2 separate regions of the Homo sapiens genome follow, and region 1 is linked to region 2. Evidence: promoter capture Hi-C in 16 types of primary human blood cells and fetal thymus (Javierre and others, 2016). All regions are on one chromosome and are shown on one strand. The core of a region is centred on a gene start or on the middle of the fragment in contact, and the rest is flanking DNA. Distances in the headings are between cores, read along the strand shown.

The links. The method cuts DNA at HindIII sites, captures the fragments that hold promoters and counts their contacts. A CHiCAGO score of 5 or more calls a contact.
Region 1: the fragment with the promoter of OR1N2 here is called in contact with the fragment with the promoter of OR1J1 in region 2 in 1 of 17 cell types (neutrophils); the score reaches 5.6 in neutrophils.

The regions. Positions count from the first base shown.
Region 1 is chr9:122,551,506-122,554,903 of GRCh38, forward strand. It overlaps OR1N2 (olfactory receptor family 1 subfamily N member 2), which reads left to right and starts at 1,607. Exons shown (of 1, transcript NM_001004457.2): 1 at 1,607-2,709. The coding sequence starts at 1,707. The coding sequence ends at 2,657. It also overlaps a transcript of OR1J2 not described here and a transcript of OR1L8 not described here. The HindIII fragment of the contact is 1,550 bases long and covers 722-2,271 here.
Region 2 is chr9:122,475,759-122,479,367 of GRCh38, forward strand. OR1J1 (olfactory receptor family 1 subfamily J member 1) reads right to left here and starts at 2,168. Exons shown (of 1, transcript NM_001004451.1): 1 at 1,200-2,168. The coding sequence starts at 2,168. The coding sequence ends at 1,200. It also overlaps a transcript of OR1J2 not described here. The HindIII fragment of the contact is 5,266 bases long and covers 1-3,609 here.

The sequences.
Region 1 (3,398 bases), core at 357-2,856, 75 kb after region 2:
TCTTCTTCAATGCAGTTTTACCTAGGACATGGGACAAGTGCTGACTTGCCTAATGCATATAGGCAGGAGTTCCCAGGTGACCTGCTAGTCAGGCTGAAGTACACTGCATTGCCAGCAAGAGGCTTCAGAATCACATTCCCGAGACCCACATTTGAGATCTTAACCCCTGGGAAAGAGAGGTCCTCAGCTCCCCTAGGATCCAGCCAGAGTTGGCTGGAGAACAGGCTGCACAATGACACCGAGGTCGACCTTAACGAGCACATTGGGAGATGGTGTTCTAGGAGCCTTTATAACCTTAAGAGATATTCCTGTCTTCTTATGCCCGGGGAAGCTGAAATCGAGCCATACACTTCAGGTATTTCTAATAAACTCTGGACTCAATAGACCCCGACTTTATTGCCTCTGAGTCAGAAAGGTCTCAGAGTTTTTTATTATGAATTATCCATCCAAGGAAGAGAATTGGAGAATTTGAAGATGCCTAAAACTGATCCATAATCTGACAGGTGAGGATTTGGAAGGGGTAGGACACATACACACACACACACACATACACTCTCTCTCTCTCTCTCTCTCTCACACACACACACATATACACCTTCCTTCCCAGTTCGATGATCAGGTGACCAGGCAAAAGTTTCCTGGGAAAGTGCTGAGTCTCTGCCTAAGGTCAGAAGCTTCTCTATGAACCAAAGAACAAATGGAGGACTAAAATAGTTACAAAAGCTTCTAAGGCCAAACTTCTACAAGATCAATATGAAATGGTTTCTCCTACCAGCTCACTAGGGCAGCAAAAAAACAGACTGGTTATTTTCAAACCAAAAAGTCAGGGCGATACCTTTCACCTTCCCTCCCTCTGGTTAAAAGTAAATATTAGATAAATGTAGTACAAATGTAGGGGTGAAGGCACAGGTGAACTAAAATATCAGTTCCCAGAGCAGATAGAGATGCATAGCAGCAAAAAAGGGAAGAGGACAGGGATAAAGGAGAGGAAGTGATGGAAGGGAGAGAGTGGCTCCCTGTCCTATTTGTATGCGTGTGTGTGGGAGGGAACATCCTAACAGTGGATGGGGGAGTACGACACCAGACACCTACTGCCCTCAGCTCACATATCCTTTGCCGCTAGTTAGGAAAGAGTACAGGACTGGTTTGAATGGGTGAGGTCAAATTCTCAGCACTGAAAGGCAAGTGGGGAGGAAGCTATCTTGTCTTAAAAGTCAATTTCAGCCCCCACAAAGAGGGCTTGAGTGTGTGTGTGTGTGTGTGTGTGTGTGTGTGTGTGTGTGTGTGTGTGTTGGAGGAGGGGTAGGAGTTTGATGGAGATCATGCATCTTCTTTCCAATTGACAATAACAAATGGCTTTTCTAATCTTGCCATCAAGCTATTCTCAATTCTCACTTCCTCTAAATAGCCCATGCCAATTTCTCTGGTCAAACAAATCTCTTTTCTTTGGATTCTGCTATAGCATACAAAGCACAATTGAGATTTGAATGGATATTATCTTAACTGTTCTCTAAATGTCTCTTGGGTATTTCCTTGCATTCCCAGTGAGATTCAGAGATTCTTATTGGCAAAGACCATTTATTTTTCTTTTCTTTTTCTCCCAGCACAGTTCTGGCCACACAGATGCATATCTGTAAATTGATCTAATAAATAAATACTGACACATGGAAGGTTTTTATCTGCGCAGATCACACGAACTACAAGGGATGGGAAAACCAGGCAGAGTGAACCAAACCACTGTTTCAGACTTCCTCCTTCTAGGACTCTCTGAGTGGCCAGAGGAGCAGCCTCTTCTGTTTGGCATCTTCCTTGGCATGTACCTGGTCACCATGGTGGGGAACCTGCTCATTATCCTGGCCATCAGCTCTGACCCACACCTCCATACTCCCATGTACTTCTTTCTGGCCAACCTGTCATTAACTGATGCCTGTTTCACTTCTGCCTCCATCCCCAAAATGCTGGCCAACATTCATACCCAGAGTCAGATCATCTCGTATTCTGGGTGTCTTGCACAGCTATATTTCCTCCTTATGTTTGGTGGCCTTGACAACTGCCTGCTGGCTGTGATGGCATATGACCGCTATGTGGCCATCTGCCAACCACTCCATTACAGCACATCTATGAGTCCCCAGCTCTGTGCACTAATGCTGGGTGTGTGCTGGGTGCTAACCAACTGTCCTGCCCTGATGCACACACTGTTGCTGACCCGCGTGGCTTTCTGTGCCCAGAAAGCCATCCCTCATTTCTATTGTGATCCTAGTGCTCTCCTGAAGCTTGCCTGCTCAGATACCCATGTAAACGAGCTGATGATCATCACCATGGGCTTGCTGTTCCTCACTGTTCCCCTCCTGCTGATCGTCTTCTCCTATGTCCGCATTTTCTGGGCTGTGTTTGTCATCTCATCTCCTGGAGGGAGATGGAAGGCCTTCTCTACCTGTGGTTCTCATCTCACGGTGGTTCTGCTCTTCTATGGGTCTCTTATGGGTGTGTATTTACTTCCTCCATCAACTTACTCTACAGAGAGGGAAAGTAGGGCTGCTGTTCTCTATATGGTGATTATTCCCACGCTAAACCCATTCATTTATAGCTTGAGGAACAGAGACATGAAGGAGGCTTTGGGTAAACTTTTTGTCAGTGGAAAAACATTCTTTTTATGATTAGACATCTAGACGGTGATGTCTAATCTTGATCAACCCCTCCCTGTCTTCCATCACTTCAGTAATTCTACTACTGTCATGTTGATATTAGGGGAAGGTTATCCGTTGACTCTGAGTTAGGGATGTAAAAAAAAAAAAAAGAGTGTTTCATTCTTTTATTAGGCTGTGGAATGAGATGTTCTGTCTCAGCCTCTTTCCTGACCCCAGTGAGGCAACCATTACTAACAGCAAAACTACTATTCCTCCTCACATCTCTAAAACCAGCATATTAGCCATAGTGAACAAGGCATTTGTTATGAGGCTCTGGAGCTGAGCAATTCTACCCCAGCAAGGCAGGCATGGGATGAGGTGAAGGAAGGAGAATAGAAACATTTATTGACTATCCACAATGTTCCTCATTATTCCTTACATCAGTTACTTTAGGTAGAATTGTGAAAACTGTGAATTAGGATGCTAAATAACTTAACAAGTCAATTTATGCCTATCGACTCCCTTTCTATTTTACCACTTTGTGAGGATCATGACAAGGAAGGTGTGAGTGTACATCTAAGGTTAATATTGAATGATAACAATAGGAGAAAAAGAATTAATATATGTTATGGTATTCCTTACTATTTCATTTCTTTAACTTAAAAGCACTCTTCTGTTGTAGTAAATAGATTAAAAGTAATCAATATTTGTTGTACACCTACTAGTGCCAGATTTGTACTAACTACACCATCCGTTCTCTGAATTCTTTCA
Region 2 (3,609 bases), core at 918-3,417:
CATCAGAACAAGATAAAACCTTGTGTGTCTGGATAGTTCTCATCTGTTAAGATTCAGGTAAAGAAACGCCTTCTTTGGGAAGTTGTTTATATCCTCTTCCATCAGACTGAGCTAATTATTCCTCTTCAAACCCACACAGTGTTCCATGTAAACTATTATAGTCTTTGCTACACTGAGTCACTCTGGAATCAGATGCCAAGATTCAAGTCTTCCTTTCACGAACTATATGATCTTGGGGTATTCTTCCCCTTTTAGAGCCTGAGTTTTTTAAACTTACCTTTTGGAGTTTTTGTCAGAATTAAGTTAGATGATTTTAAGGTATATTAAGTTCTTAGATCAGTCCCTGAGAGAACTGAGGTGACATTTATTTTGTCACTGAACATCTGTATGTGTTTGGGGAGAAAGGAAGTGTGGGCTATATTCTGGAAGGACAAGACAGCAGTGTGTTAATTATTATGTAAGGAGTGAGAAATGTCATATGTTTTTCTTAAAATTTCTGAAAGGGCTTCAGCTTCCTGGATATCTGGTGCCTGGGCGAAAGAGGAGCCATATCTTCACAAAAGTGGAAAATTCCTAAGAAATAGAGGTGTGAAGGGCCAGACACATTTTATAACAAATTTAAAATCTGGGAAAGGTCAGCCCTGATGGCTTCCTTTTCATACCAGCCAAAGTGACATAACATGCTCAGAATATTTTCCAATTCCATTACCCAAGAAAAGAGCAAACAAAGTCCTATACAACATATCCTATTTTACTATTCCCTCAAACAGATGCAATAATAATATCAGGAAAGCATTTCAGAGTGACAGCTGTGGAAGAAAGACAAGTGAGCTATATTTTCAATAATTTGTATTTCTGTATTATTGAGGAAAAATATTACATGGGATGTTTTAAAAGAAAGGTAAATATCAGTTAGAATAATGGTTTTTTTTTACTCAATAATTTTTTTTTCTTTTTTCTTTTTTTTGACAGAGTCTTGCTCTGTCACCCAGGCTGGAGTGCAGTGGCACGATCTTGGCTCACTGCAACCTCCGCCTCCTGGGTTCAAGTGATTCTTCTGCCTCAGTCTCCCGAGTAGCTGGGACTATAGGCATGCACCACCATGCCCGGCTAATTTTTTTGTATTTTTAGTAGAGACTGGGTTTCGCCATGTTGGCCAGGCTGGTCTCGAACTCCTGATCTCAGGTGATCCGTCTGCCTCAGCCTCCCAAAGTGTTGAGATTACAGGCATGAGCCACTGCGCCTGACCTACTCAAGAGTTTTCTTAGGGCTCCCTTAATGTCTTTATTTCTCAGACTGTAAATGAATGGGTTCAACATGGGAGTGACTGCTGTGTATATCACTGAAGCAATTATGTTCTTGTCATTGGTGTTGCTGGATGGGGGAAGAAAATAGAGACCAATAATTGTCCGATAATAGATAGTCACCACTGAGAGGTGGGATCCACAAGTGGACAAGGCTTTGCATATGCCCTTGGTAGAGGGAATCTGGAGGATGGTGACCCCAATGTGACCATAAGAAACCAGGATGCACAGGAATGGAAGCATAATGGCTGTCAATGCTGCTGTAAAGATTGCTAACTGATTGAGGGAGGTGTCTGAGCAGGACAACTTGAGCAGGGCACCAAGGTCACAGAAGTAGTGAGGGATGATGTGGTCAGCACAGAAGGAAAGCTGGGCCAGGAGGAGGGTATGCAAAAGAGCACACGCACAAGCGATGACCCAGGACCCAGCCACCAGCATGACACACTGGCTCTGAGTCATGATGGTGGCATAATGTAGAGGATGACAGATGGCCACATACCTGTCATATGCCATTGAAGTGATAAGGAAACTGTCTAAGTCAGCAAAAAATATGAAAAAATATGTCTGTGAAATGCATCCCTTGTAAAAGACGGCTAGGTGCTGAGTCTGCATGTTCATCAGCATCTTAGGGACAGTGACAGATGAAAAGGAGATGTCAGTGAGGGCCAAGTGGCTAAGGAAGAAGTACATGGGGGTGTGAAGGTGAGAGTCTAGCTGGATGAGCAGCATGATGAGCAGGTTCCCCAGCACCGTGGTCAGGTACATGCCCAGGAACAGGGCGAAGAACACGGCCTGCTGCTCTGGCCGGATGGGGAGGCCCAGGAGGAGGAACTCGGACACGCTGCTCTGGTTCTCAGGGCTCATGTTTATATCAGCTGGAGGGCACTAGGGAAATTTGAAGGAAAAAAATGGTATGTCTTGGAATAAGAAATGATAACTGTGGCATAGTATAATAGAGATGTTCTTTTGACTTAGAGAATGTCTTCATATTTTCTTACATTTGCCACATATTTTGCTGCAAATGTGCTGAAAAAGAAATGAAGGTTTAGTCGATATAGCTACTTTCTTTCTGAATCTGGTCTCTGTAAATGATAGTACTAAAAGTTGTTTGCTAAATGTTTTTTAATACACTGTTCCAATAGCTGATGTATTGTAAGTGATTCAATAGCCTTCAATATATGAGCTGGGTGGTACTGTTATTATTTCTACTCTTTAGATGTGAAAGCTAAGGCAGACAGTCTTATAGTCACAGCAATAGGAAGAGGAGAAGCTGGGATTTGGACCGAAGTATCTTGACTCCATAGTTTCTTCTGTGGAAACAAAGCAATTATTTGACATTGGAAATCTCATTGCCTTATTTTGTGTGCAATGACCTATTTAATTCTGTATACCCTGCTTGTCTACACAGTGCATGATTATTTCTAATTTATTCATTGTTTATAGACCCCTAATCTTTTTTTAAGACATAACACTTTATTTATTAAAAAACTCTTCCATGTAAACAATTACTCCAAAAGACAACAAAACAAGTTATTTTGAGTGATTTTTCAAAGGACATACCCACATATTTTATCATGATATATATGTACTATTCTAGAAGGTGGGGAGGGTGGTACTGTTGAAAGTCCAGGTAAATAAATCATAATACGAAGTAAGCAACAAGATAGAAAATCTTTCTTATGGTTTCAGATCCATACATAATTGCTCTGATCTTTTTTTGTTTGTTTGTTTGTTTGAGACAGAGTCTCGCTCTGTTGCCAAGGCTGGAGTGCAGTGGTGAGATCTCGGCACACTGTAACCTCCGCCTCCTGGGTTCAAGCGATTCTTCCAGCTAATTTTTTATTTTTAGTAGAGACGGAGTTTCACCATGTTGGTCAGGCTGGTCTCGAACTCCTGACCTCATGATCCACCCGCCTCAGCCTCCCAGAGTGCTGGGGTTACAGGTGTGAGCCACTGCACCCAGCCTAATTGCTCTGATCTTTTTAAAGTTTAAGATAAGTGTAAGATATTTAATTCTATGTTTGAATATCAATGTGTAGCGCGAAAACATATATATATTCCTCCAGGCTCAACCACACATGTGACAATGTCTCTTGGGGACGCAGCGGTGAATTCCTCTCACAGTATGTCTAAGGAGCATTGGCTCAGTGAGATTTCACATTCAGTGGATTTCAGCCATCTCATCAATTTCTCCATGCTACTGAAATCTCATTGTTCCACTCAGAATTTGTCTTTTCCCCAGGATGGCTTTCAAAGCATTTTACTGACTGTGTCAAGCCAGAGTAAGTAAAATGCTGATGAGTTT